2 separate regions of the Homo sapiens genome follow, and region 2 is linked to region 1. Evidence: promoter capture Hi-C in human tissues and cell types (Jung and others, 2019). All regions are on one chromosome and are shown on one strand. Each heading gives the region's core, a stretch centred on a gene start or on the middle of the fragment in contact. The rest is flanking DNA. Distances are from core to core; before and after follow the strand shown.

The links. Contacts are between HindIII fragments. The study calls those that stand out against the background at their distance.
Region 2: a contact is called between a fragment that was not itself captured here and the fragment with the promoter of EPHA3 in region 1, in 1 of the 25 tissues and cell types used here (dorsolateral prefrontal cortex).

Annotation. Positions count from the first base shown.
Region 1 is chr3:89,102,772-89,109,759 of GRCh38, forward strand. It overlaps EPHA3 (EPH receptor A3), which reads left to right and starts at 4,850. Exons shown (of 17, transcript NM_005233.6): 1 at 4,850-5,065. The coding sequence starts at 4,978. RefSeq lists an enhancer at 4,692-4,831. The HindIII fragment of the contact is 4,313 bases long and covers 2,103-6,415 here.
Region 2 is chr3:88,007,692-88,014,808 of GRCh38, forward strand. No RefSeq gene overlaps it. Among named protein-coding and RNA genes, the nearest start is that of CGGBP1, 48 kb to the right of the region's middle. The HindIII fragment of the contact is 3,227 bases long and covers 1,428-4,654 here.

The sequences.
Region 1 (6,988 bases), core at 3,600-6,099:
AGTTTATGCCCTTCTGGGTTTCTTATTTTCTATTAAACTACTGGCTTTATTGATTGCACTTAGATCTCACCAGGTTGTAAATAAAAAATTGATATTTTCCCCCCTTTTCTCTACCTCCCAAATTTGAACCACCATATTTCTTGTCAATTAATTGCATCACTAATCAGCTAAGCACAGCAGAAGGAAACATGTCAGCCTCTTCTATTTTATAATACTCTCATTGGATCTCACTTACCTCTTTTCCGGGCTTCTCATCTCTTCTAAGCTTACCTTCTTGAAAGCACAGAATATGTACTATTTCTATATCCTCACTTACCATTTACTTCTTTATCTTAATTGAACTTGTGGTCCCATTACTATACCAAAAGTATCACGAAAGTCATCAAAATCTTCCCTGTAGAAAGAGGCATTCATGTTTGAAGGAAACTTACACGAGTGTCAAAATGAGCACAAAGCAAAACCAAGCCTGGGAATTAACATAAACAATATAGGATATTGAAATAGTAGACTCTCCAGATTAAGATACATCAAACATTAAGTAAAGAGTTTTTATAACCTGAGCACCATTCTGGATAGATGTGAAAAAGAGGGATGTCAACAGAGAAGAACAATAAATTTAGCTGCTATGGGAGTGGGAAGGATAGAGGTAAGGGCACCAGGTTCAGAGAAGGCCTCATCCAAAATGTTGTCAAATTCAATTGTGACTTTTCAGTCACCTTTTTGGATTTTTTTTTTTTTTTGGCTTGCACCACAGCTAAGAATGAATTATTTTTCAAAATTTTCACAAGCTTGATTTCTAATAAGTTATTTTTTCTAGTCCTTTGCTATTTATTTCTACCTGCCTTTTAAATACAGGTGTATGCTAGGGCTTCATCCTTGGCCATCCAGCTGATCTTCCTACCAACACTCTGTCACCCAGGCTGGAGTCCAGTGATGTGATCTTGGCTCACTGCCACCTCTGCCTCCAGCGCTAAAGAGATCCTACCACCTCAGACACCCCAGTAGCAGGGACTCCAGGCATGTGTTACCATGCCTGGCTAGATTTTGTAGAGATAGGCTTTCTCCATGTTGCCCAGGCTGGTCTTGAACTCCTGTGCTCAAGCAATCCACCCACCCATCTCGGCCTCCCAAAGTGCTGGGATTATAGGGCTGAGCCTCCACTCCAAGCCTATTTTCATATACTAATGATTTCCAAAGAAATAACTCCACTTAGGTCCTTTTCTCCTAATATTTCATTTACCCTCTGCTTTCCCTCAGGTCTTTCCAACTAGACATATGTAAAACAGAAACCTTTACATTCCACGTCTGTTTTCTATCCTCAAACCTCTCTTACTCCTCACTAACTCTTCATTCAAGCCAGGAATTGAAAGGCCTTCTACGCACTACCGTCTGCCTAATTTCTCATAATCAATCTATTATGAAGTGTTGCCATTTCTCCCACTTATATGTGCCTGGTTTCAGTTCTACTGTTACTGCTCAGTGTCACACTCTCTAGATCTCTCTTTTGGATCAAGATTTTTTAAAAACAGTATTGAATGCTTTTAATAATTCAGACACTAGGCTAACACTTTATCTGTACCATCCCAAATCTGATATAATCCTTACAACATTCCGATGAGATAGGATCTGTTATTATCTGGATTTCACTAAGAGTGACAGAGCCAGGTCAGTGACCTAGATTGCTCTGATTCAAGAGCCCCACTGGTAACCTCTACATGGTATTGGCCATCCTACTGGAAAGGGCTCCTAATTTGTCTTTTGGCTTCTCATTGGAGTTTTCACTTTCATTTTCCCCTCCTTTCTTAAATATGTCAAACTGATCTTTCTAAAATGCAAATTGAACTATTTCTGCCTTGCCCCTCAGCACCCCTGTCCAAGCTTTTTAGAGCAGCTAATACAACTCTTCATGACCCTGCTTCTTCCTAGCCGGTGTCTCCTCTTTCCCATACCCGCTGACACAATTTCGAAATCTATACTCTAATAATAGAGACATTTGTCATTTCCTCCAGAAATCTTGTTTTTCACTTTTCTTTAAAATGCCCCTTTTCAGTTTCCTCTCAATTGCCATCTCCCCCAGGGAACTGTTAATTCCTAACTTGAGTTATGTACTAAATCCAGTTTTCCTTGGGGGAGTATTGTTTGTTTAACCTAAAATGGTCTTCTCATTTTCCCTTTTATCTTTCTTCTTTCTGAGAGATCCTAGTTCAGTTCCTTATCACTTCAGTCTTACTTGAAAAATAGCCTGAAGTCTAACTGGCCTACCTCTAATATTCCCTCCTTCACATTGGGCAGTGGTTCTCCAGGGACCCCAAGGATTACCTGAGAAGCTTTTGTGAAATTGCAGATTCCTGGGTTCCAACCTCGGAGGTTTAGGTCCAGTAAGTCTGTGGTGGGAAGAAGGCATCACTTCTTAATAAGCATTGCACCCAGGTGGAGACATCCTGTTTTATGCTATTAGTAAACTTTTGTCCCCAGACTGAGACATGATCAATTTACTACTTGCTGAAATGCTTTTGATGTCTCTCTTTAGTTTAAAATATATTGTAAAATCATTGACATGTGGCATCGAAATCTCTGTAGTTTTCAACCAGTCCTTTGAAGAATATTTCCCTACATTTTGTCTCCAATCCATACCTCCTCCTATTCCGGCCCTTTACCTACCACAAATACTCTAATATACTCTGTATTCCATATGTGCCAAATGCTTTCATTTTTGGCTCACTTGGACACTCTCTGGACTTGCCTGCCTGCAGTTCCTTCTGAATCATTTTCTTACTAGTGAACTCCTACCCATCCTTCAAGCTGCAACTCAACTACCACTTTCTTAATAAGGGCTTCCCTGCATCTGCTGCCCCCACCTCATCCTTTCCACTCCTGCTATGGTTGCTCTTCTCTGCTTATTGGCATCACTCCCTTTTCCCCATCTGTCCAGAATGGCGCCTACATAATGGAAACCTTTTACTTTTCACTAGAGAGTTGACAATTTAGAGATTCTATATCATTTACATTCTATTTTCAGGCCAGGTATTGCTTTGTACTCATTTTGCCACTCCTGTAGCTTTCTGCAAACATGAATGCCTTTTTTCCCAGTGACAAGCAGTTTTTAAGTTTTCAAGTGTGAAAAGAGAAATAGCATGAGGGGCGCCAATGGATCTGCGTGTCAGCACATTGGCAGATTCTCCAAAATGTTTTCAAATTGTCAATTCCAAATAAGATTTTAGTTTCTTTCAAGTTTCAGAAAACGTGTATCTAACTTTGGAACAATGTAAGTGTTGTGCTGGAACTTTGAAAAAACACCAGAGTCACCACTGTCTAAGTTCTCTGGGCAGTATCTGCTATTATTTTCAATTCTGACAGACTTGGCACTTGAGGATTGCGCAGCCTCTGGTGACACAATGTGGAAAGAAGTTAGAGACACAAAGTAACATGGCATACACAGAAAAGTGAGAAGGATCTCTCTTTTCCCCTGGCTGCTTCTATCCACCCCAATTCCCCACCCCAGTCATCAAACTATTATCTGGCACCATTAACTTAAATTCAAGTGAAAATTGTGTTCTCTAACTAAAAACATTGAGTTTGTGGACTGAATACATTATTAGCAAGGGCTTTTCAAACTTTCATTTAAGTTTCATTATCAAGAGCTCTAAAATTGATCACTGATCTTAAGATTATCAACATACCTTTATTTTCTGAAGTTGTGAGAGGAATATAATAATCTTGTTTTCTTTTTAGTATAAGAAGAGATAGATGGGCGGAAGGATATCTGAGTAACCATTTTCTGGGAGATATTTTAAAGATAAGTGATGCTGGTTATTAAAATATAAATTACAAAATTGTTTGGCTGAACTAGATTGCAATAGGTTGTTCAGCAATGGGATTGGAAATAACAGAGACCATTGATAGTCATGGTGTAAAATAAGTGAGAAAGTACGAGGACATTATTATTTAGCTTTTGGATTTGGAATGTTAAAGAATAAGAATACCCCAATATTATTAGACTATCAGTGGTTGAAAGTTGAATGGAGGAGCTGTGAATTATGCATTGTTTCTCTTGCAGAACCCAGAGATCCTAATGTGAGATGGTGAGGGAGGGGGATATGTATTATTAAGAAATTTAGGTTTGATCTGTATTACTTTTACAACACAGAACGAGAAAAGAATGTAGACCTCCGGCTGGGGTTAGACTTGCTCCCTTCCGTAAGATGATGAAGGTCAACTTCCCTGTTTGAAAAAAAACAAAGTATGCTCTATGTGCGCGGAAAATCACTGTGCCAGATCTAGTAAAAAGCCACGATACCATTGGGTGTGGAAATGCAGAGACCCTCTGATTCAGGCTGTGTATTAGTGTCTTTCTGAATCACAAAGAACTCATGGAGAGTTATGATCACATTGAACACAGTAAAGGAATAACTATAATCATTTTTTTCAATTATACAAACATGATTGACTTTTTAACGAAAGACTGCTATTCTTTCAAAACACACGTTTCTCTCGCATTTCAGTTCCTTTTGCACTCACATTGCCATATGATACTCCTATCAAGGCTGTGATTTCTTCGGTGAATTAAGCAACAGAGCATGGATAGCAAACAATAAAACAGCTACTTTTCATGCAACACAAAAGAGGGAGCATTTTTCTCAGCACCGCGGCCTCATCACATCTTCTGTGTTTCCTGTCCCATGGGCGACGCCCCCACTCCCACCCGGTCTCCTTCCCGAGCAGCTCTGGGCTGCAGAGCCAGCTGCGTGCCATCCCGCTCTGCTTCAGCGCACGCTGAAGACGGCACTAGGACCCAGGGAAGTCCCCGAGCGGGGTTCGCGGAAAGGCAGCCAGACTCCTCCTTATCTCCAGTGTCAAACTTGACATCAGCCTGCGAGCGGAGCATGGTAACTTCTCCAGCAATCAGAGCGCTCCCCCTCACATCAGTGGCATGCTTCATGGAGATATGCTCCTCTCACTGCCCTCTGCACCAGCAACATGGATTGTCAGCTCTCCATCCTCCTCCTTCTCAGCTGCTCTGTTCTCGACAGCTTCGGGGAACTGATTCCGCAGCCTTCCAATGAAGGTAAGCCAGGTACCGCGACGCACGGAGCTCTGCCCCGCGGGGCTCACGCTCTTCAAAGCACGTTCTCACCGAAGCCTTGCACGTCGGGAAGGTGCCTCCGAATAGAGCAGTTTGCTCTGAGAGTGAAGGAAAGATGTGCCTTTTTTTTTTCCAACTGTCTTCTAAAACACTTCAGGAGATAATTTTAGATGGTCTAAACTTTGAAAATGTGTTTTTAATCTGACACCATTTCGAGCAATTACCTTGTTTGCCAATTTGAGCAGAAAGAAAGAAAGAAAATCCTCCAGCGTTGCAACCCAGTTATGTTAATTGCCAAATAGCCAAGGCAGTATTTTATTTTCTAATTATGACCATGTGGTACTCCGAGAAGTTTGAAAGAAAATTCAGCCTTCCTCTCTAGACTCTTTAGTATGTTTAAAGGTAATGACAGGTTGTTCCTACTTGGGATCATGGCATTTATGAATGGACTAAAGGGAAATCAGAGTTTGTCGAAGCGGAGGTGCGTGTTTATGGTGCAAGGGCTGTGTTGAAGTTGTGTGTATCCCGCCAGGCAATGGTTTGCTCTATGGTACAGGTTCTAAAGAGCAGCATATGCCACATTAACGTAAGTAATATTTGCAAGAATTACAATAAGCTTAGGTTGGATTCTCTTTGTTTAAAGGCTTATATACAAATAGGAGAATGTATTTAATGAATAGTGGATAGCTCCTGGGAAGATATAGTAAATAACTGAATAGTAGATTAAGAGAGAATGTTCATATGCAGCAAATGGCATTTCCTTGATGTTGTGTTATTTATTATCCTTGTAATGAGCATTAATTCCTTTTCAGTGGGTTAAAGTGCAAACCTAATGTTAAGGACACCAATGTGTTCTATAAGATTGTGTACTTAATACATACATTTTCTTTCTCCTGTATTCCTTTTGTGATCTATTCTTGTGAATACAGTCACTAACTCGTAAAACAAACTTCTCTAAATAATTGATTAGTGTAAAGCCACACTTACAACATTAATTTCCTCTTAGTGATTTTGAACTTATAACAGTAACATTTAGCAATTTATTTTGCAAGTTAACAATACCGAGCAACTGATGTGCAAACATCATGTTATATACATCACTCCTTAGAAAATATATTGTCAAGCCAATACTGTTGTATATGTACCTTAATTTTAAAAACACGAGTAAAAACAAAATACTTAGAAAGTTTTTTATTAAATGTAATAACTGCCTGATACTCGGTGACCTACTTTCACTGCTAATAGAGCAGTAATTTATCTCCTTCCTTACTGACTGCCTTTATCAATTTGGCAGTTTTCATTAAATGTTCTGAATCTTTTTTCTAAATAAGAAAATGAAAATTCTAAAATATAAGGATCAAGAAAATTATCTTACCCACAAATGACTTTTTATTTTACAAACCAAATTAAAATGTTTATTTGAAAGTAAGAGTCAATCATTCTTCCTGAATGAAAGGTAAGAGTATTCATTTGTATAACGGGTAACATGTATAATAGGTAACATATCAATAAATTAAACTTAATGTTTTAAAAATTTTTGTTCTTTGCAGATATTAAAATATTGACAATAACTAGAAAAATAGTATTAAAATTCCCACATTGTCATGATAAATTATATTTTCCAGATAGAATGGTTATGAACTATGTAGATATGGATATTACTGAATTAATTATGCACAAGAATGTAGCTGTTAGTCAGTATTTTTGTGGAAAACAACCTTTAAGTAAACTGCAAGAGAAAAAAAAAGACACCAAACTATTTCACACCTATGTAAAATTAATCAGTATTAATTTAATGAAACAGAGTTAATCAAATACAAATTGCTTTTAAGCCTCACCTCATGTATGTTTGGGGATATAATGTATATAATTATACAGACAGGTACACATTAACCATATGGATAT
Region 2 (7,117 bases), core at 1,791-4,290, 1.1 Mb before region 1:
ACGTTTCAAAATGGGGAGAAAGAAAAATTATTTGAAGAAATACAACTGAAATTTTTCTAAATTTGATGAAAACTATAAAGCCACAGAGCCAGGAAGTTCAACAAACCCCAAGCACAAGAATCATAAAGGAAAATACACCAAGGTACATTACAAACAAATTGCTCAAAACCAGGGTAATCCTTTTTTTTTTTTTTGAGAGGAGAGTAGGCTTTATTATTCTTTATATTTTACAAATGAAGAAACATCCATTCCTCAGTCAGTGAGTCAATTGAACAACATTTATCAAATATCTGTTCATTCATGATACAATGTGAATGTATCATGGCAGGCCACACCTGCAAGTCTTTGGAGACATGAGTGTAACTGTAAATATTAAGGGTCTATAAAAAGTCAATGAATCAATTAGAGATAAAATTCTGTTTCATTAAGATGAATTCTTAATGATGGATTCAACCAACCACATTTTATTCTTTTATTCTGTGAGTTCCTTTCAAAAAAAAAAACTTATTTTGGGTTCGGGTGTACACTTGCAGGTTTTTTATACAGGTGAACTCGTGTCACAGGGGTTCATTTACAGATGATCTCATCGCCCAGGTACTAAGCCTAGTACCTAATAGTTATTTTCTCTGCCCCTCTCCCTCCTCTCACCCTCTACCTTCAAGTAGGCCCCAGTGTCTGCAAGGCAATCCCAAGCAAAAAGAACAAAGCTGGAGGCATCACACTACTTGACTTCAAGCTATACTACAAGGCTACAGTAACCAAAACAGCATAGTATTGGTACAAAAGCAGACACACAGACCAGTGGAACAGAATAGAGAGCCCCAAAATGAGGCCACACACCTACGACCATCTGATCTTCAACAAAGCTGACAAAAATAAGCAATGGAGAAAGGATTCCCTATTCAATAAACAGTGCTGGGATAACTGGCTAGCCATAGGCAGAAGATTAAAACTGGACCTCCACCTTACAACATACACAAAAATCAACTCAAGATGAGTTAAAGACTTAAATGTAAAACCCAAAACTGTAAAAGACCTGGAAGACAACCCAGCCAATACCATCCTGGGCATAGGAACGGACAAAGATTTCATGACAGAGATGCCAAAAGCAATCACAACAAAAGCAAAAACTGACAAATGGCAAATGGGATCTAATTAAACTTAAGAGCTTCTGCACAGCAAAAGGAACTATCAACAGGGTAGACAGACAACCTACAGGATGGAAGAAAATATTTGCAAACTATGCATCTAACAAAGCTCTAATACCCAACATCTATAAGGAATGTACAAAAATTTACAAGAGAAAATCAAACAACCCCACCAAAAAGTGAGCAAAGGACATGAAGAGGCACATTTCCAAAGAAGACATACATGCGGCCAACAAGCATATGTAAAAAAGTTCAACATCACTGATCATTAGAGAAATGCAAATTAAAACCACGATGAGATACCATCTCACACCAGTCAGAATAACTATTATTAAAAAGTCAAAAAATAACAGATACTATCAAGGTTGCAGAGAAAAGGGAACTCTTATACACTGTTGCTGGGGGGTGTAAACTAGTTCAACCATTGTGGAAAGTAGTGTGGCAGTTTCTCAAAGAGCTAAAAACAGAACTACCATTTGACCCAGCAATCACTTAAATAGTGTCTAAGTTCATTCACTTAGATAGTGTCTGTGGCTGCTTTCACATTATAACAGAAGAGTAGGATTTAGAAGGAAATTGGCACTAGATGCCAATATTGGATATAAAAACACCACTAAAGCAGTACTTAGAGGAAAATCTATACTACTAAGTGCCATTATTAAAAAAAGAGAAAGGGCGGAGCGCAGTGGCTCACGCCTGTAATCCCAGCTCTTTGGGAGGCCAAGATGGGTGGATCACTTGAGGTCAGAGTTTGAGACCAGCCTGGCCAACATGGTGAAACTCCATCTCTACTAAAAATAGAAAAATTAGTCGATCGTGGCAGCAGGCACCCAAAATCCCAGCTACTCGGGAGGCTGAAGCAGAAGAATGGCCTGAACCCAGGAGGCGGAGGTTGCAGTGAGCCGAGATTGTGCCATTGGACTCCAACCCGGGCGACAGAGTGAACGTGACTGTCTCAAAAAAAAAAAAAAAAAAGAAAAAGAAAGAAAAAGAAAAGCATCTTGAATAAACGATTTCAGCTTGCACTTTAGGAGTAGTATAATTTGACACAGCCTCTAGGGCCCACAAAGCCTAAAGCCTAAAATATTTACTATCTTCTCTTTAAAAAAAAGTTTACTGATGCATGATATAGAATATTAGAATTTGACCTAATAGATATTTATAGAGTATGCCATCCAACAATAGCATAATGCACATTCTTTTTAAGTGCACATGGAACACTTATCAAGAGTGACTGTATTCTGAGCCATAAAACAAGTCTCAATTCAAACGGATTAAATCCACACAAAATGTGTTCACTAGTCATGATAAAATCTAATATCAAAAAGTTATCTGGAATATTCTCAAACATGTGGAAACTAATTGATACAACTCTAAATAACTTAGAAGTTAAAGAAGAAAACTAAAGAGAAGTCAGAAATTATTTTGTATTGAATGTGAAAACAGAACATATCAAATTTTGGGGAAATGCCAGTAAAGTATTACTTAAGAGGAAATTTATTATAAGAGCCAGTATTAAAGAGAAAAAGGTCTCAAATAAATTACTTTAGCTTCCACCTTAAGAAACTATTTTAAAAGATTAAATTAATTCAAAGTAATAGAAGAAAGGAAATCATAAATACCAGAGCACAAACTAATGACATAAGAAAGAGAAACATCAATGAAACCAGAAGTTGGTTATTTCAGAAGATCAATAAACTTGATAAACCGCTAGCCAGATAGATCATGAAAAAGAGAGAAGATACAGTGAGAGAGGGGACCTCATAAAAGAATCTACAGTTACTAAAGAATAATAAGGAAATACGAACAACTTTATGCCTATAAATTTACACCTTAGATGAAGTGAAAAAAAAATCTTGAAAGACAGAAACTACCAAAGCTCACTCAAGAAGAAATACACAACCTAATAACCCTATATCTATTAATAAATTTGAATCTATAGTTTAAAATCTTCCCATAAAGAAAACCCCAAGCCACTTTGCTTCACTGTCAATACTACCGAACATTAAAGGAAGAAACAATACGAATTCCTCACAAGCTCTTCTAGAGAACTGAAATGAAGAGATGTTCTAATCACTTCCTACTCACCCTGTTCGTTAAGGAGGAGTCCCCACCCTGAGTAGAACAAGATAGCCAAACACACAACACCTAACACTGTACCGATGAGACTAAGAAATTAAGAGATTAAGCTTAGTCACATATACAGTACTCACAGGCCAGGGAAGATGATACTGCAAGCCACATGGCCACATGAAGCTTGCACTCAGCAAAAGAGTAAAGCAGAAACTGTGGGAGGCAGGCCATGTAGGGAAAACGGGGTGGGGTGACCACTGGTTCCTATGGGAGGATGTGATTGGCTTCTTTGAATAATTTTACAAGCTGACAGGGAAATAAAACCTCTTAGGTTGAAGACTAGGTAGAGTGCAATTGGTCCAGCTAATAGAAGAACTAGCTGGGCAGAGAACCTTTCACACTGGTGGGGGGCAAATCTGATAAGAGCATGAGAACACACACCTAGGCCTTGGAAGCCCCGGAGGCTCGAAGATGTCAGGGCAACCCATGGAATCTCAGGCCTCACAGTATAAGGGAATGCATACCAATTCATTCTATGATGCTAGCATTACTATGACAAAAAAAAAAAAAAGACATTACAAGGAAAAAAACTATGTGCTAATATTTCGCACATAGGTTTAAAATTCTGAACAAAATTTTATCAAATTAACCCAACAATATATAACAGAAAATGCACCATTGTTTCTTGGATTGTTTGTTTGTTTTCTGTTGCCCAGGATGGAGTGCAGTGGTGCAATCTCGGCTCACTGCAACCTCTGCCTCCCAGATTCAAGTGATTTTCCTGCCTCAGCCTCCCGAGTAGCTGGGGTTACAGGCACATGCCACCACACCCAGCTAATTTTTGTATTTTTAGTAGAGACAGGGTTTCACCATGTTGGCCAGGCTGGTCTCAAACTCCTGGACTCAAGTGATCCTCCCACCTCAGCCTCCCAAAGTGCTGGGATTACAGGTGTGAGCCACCCACCTGACTCACCATTGTTTTTCAAGTGGGATATTTATCCCAGAAATGCAAGGTTAGTTTAACATTAAAGAATCAATCAAAGTTTTAAGAATTGTATGTTCATCTCAATAGATTTGACAACACCCATTTCTGATTTAAAAAATAAATAAATAAATCTTAGTCTTAGCCCAGTGGCTCACGCCTATAATCCCAGCACTTTGGGAGACCAAAGCAGACAGATTACTTGAACCCAGGAGTTTGAGATCAGCCTGGGCAGCATGACGAAACCCAGTCTCTACAAGAAATTCAAAACATTAGCCTGTCATGGTGGCACACACCTGTAGTCCCAGCTACTAGGGAAGCTGAGGTGGAAGAATTACTTGAGCCCAGGAGGCTCAGTGAGCTGAGGCTGTACCATTTCACTCCAGCCTGGGCAATAGTGAGACCTTGTCTCAAAAAATAAAATTAAATTAAATAAATAAATAAATAGTAATCAGATTAAAATTTTTTAAAATCTTGGTAAAATAGAAATAGAAGAGAAATCTTCGATCAGATATAGAGCATTTATTAAAAATCTATAACTAACATCATACTTAATGGTGAAAGATTGAATGCCTTCCTCCTAGGATCAGGAAAAAAAATCACAAATATTTCTACTTCTATTCAACATTGTGCTAGAGGTTGTAGTCAGTGTGAATAGGCAAGAAAAAATAAATAAGAGGCACCTGGTTTGAAAAGAAAGAAGCAAAATTCTCTTTATTAGCAGTTGTGAGTAGATTATAAATTAATAGAAACCCAATAAAATCTTCAAAAAATTTATAGAACAAATAATTTATCAAGACCATGGGATAGAGAAACAATACACAAAAACTGATATTTCTATAATCTCTAAACCACAGATGGGCATAACACATTTGCCAATTATATATAGAATAAAAAACTTGTATTCAGACAGTATAAAGAAACTCAATAGTAAGAAAATGAACAACTCAGTAAAAATTGGCAAATGATTTGACCAGATACTTTATCAAAGAAAATAGCAAATGGAAAATAAGCATATGAAAAGATGGTCAGCATCATTAGTTATCAGGGAAACACAAACTAGAATCATTGAGATACAACTCTACATCTATTAGAATGGCTATATTTTAAATAAAATTAAAAACTGATCATATCAAGTGTAGGAGAGAATGTGGATGAACTGGAATGCTCTTAATACTGGTGGGAATAATAATAGTGGGAATGTGGGATAGTACATACACTTTGCAAAACAGTTTAGGCAGTTCAGTTTCTTTAAAAGTTTGTCATACACCTACTCTATGATCCAAACGCTCCACATTCCACCCAAGAGAAATAAAAGCATATATACATACAAACACTGGTACATGAATGTTGATAGCAGTTTTATTTGTAAAAGCTAAAAAGTGGAAACCAAATTCCATCAATAGGTAAATTTGCACTAAAATGGAATGAACCATTGATAAGCACTCCCATATGGCTGAATCTCAATATAATTATTCTGAGTAAAAGCCAGAAGAAGAGTACATACTATTTTATTCATACATACAAAATTTAGAAAATGAAAACTAACGTGTGGTAACAGCATGGAAGTGGTCTCCTGGGGTTGGGGACCAGTAGGGACCAGCAGGAAGGATTACCAAGGGGCTTCAGAAAATTTTTATGGATAATGGATACATACGTTCATCACGTTCATGGTCTCATGCGTGCACACATACATCAAAGCTTAGCAGACTGTACATGTTACATACATATAGTTTATTGTGCATCCGTTATACTTCAATAAAACTTTTTTTAATAGGCATTAAAAATAAGCTGGGTGGTTTGGCTTCTCTGAGCTGAGCTTTGTTGGTCAGCTGGCAGCTGGCTGGTCTAGGATGGCCTCAGCTGAGATGACTTAATTCTGTTCCGTGTAATCTATTATTGGCCAACAAGCTAGCCTGAACTTTGTCACACTGTGGTGGCAGTGTTGCAAAAATGAGAAAGCAACATTGTATAAAAGAGTAAGCAGAAAGCACACAAGGCTTCTTGAGGACCATACTCAGAACTGGTATAGTGTTTTCTCTGCTGCCTTCTATTCATCAAAGCAAGTTATAAGGCTAGTCCAGGTTCAAGGGATGGGGAAAAATACCTCTTTATGGAAGGAGCTGCCAACATATGATAACAAACATGAATACAGGGAAGAGAATACTTTAGGCTATTTTTGCAGTCAGCGTAACTTAAGGTCATTCTTCCAATTATCAGATCATTATTCTAAGATCATTATTAACTCATGCATTTGATTGTATGATGTATTTGTCAATTGCGGTTATTATCTTCATTGATATTCAAGTTGTCCATATTTGGAGAGTGGGGTCCTGTGTTTACTTGAGAATTTCCTGACACATCTTCTGTGGCTGGAAACTATATTTCCCAGAATTACCTTCCCTATGTGGCTTTAAGTCAGAAGTAACTTACGCAAAATTTGGAAGTTGGAAGTGGAAGCAGATATTCAGTGGCTTCACAGACCTCTCCATGAGCTACCATTTTGCCTGTGGGAGGAAGACTAAAAGCTTCTCACACTCTTCTCAAATTCTTGCCTTTCAAGCCACTTGACGCTTCAAGCTGAAAACATTAATGATGTGATCCTCTGGCTTCCTTCCCAGCCTTTCCACACTCATATAAATTCAAATTCTTATCATAAACCTTTCTGTTTCCATAATAGTTGTCATGGCTCCTCTCTTGTCTGAATCTGAGTTGATAAAGAGTTTCTTCAAGTTGGCTCCTGAGTCCTTTGGATATACACAATATTGTAGTTTTTGGTAACTCACTTGCTTTCTGGAGTAAGAATATACTATAAGGTTATCTTCTTGTATTCCTGTCTAAAATCTAGAACCAGCTATTTCTTCAGGGACTCCCTGTTTTTTAAGTTACTTGGAATAGTTCTTCTCCATCTGAC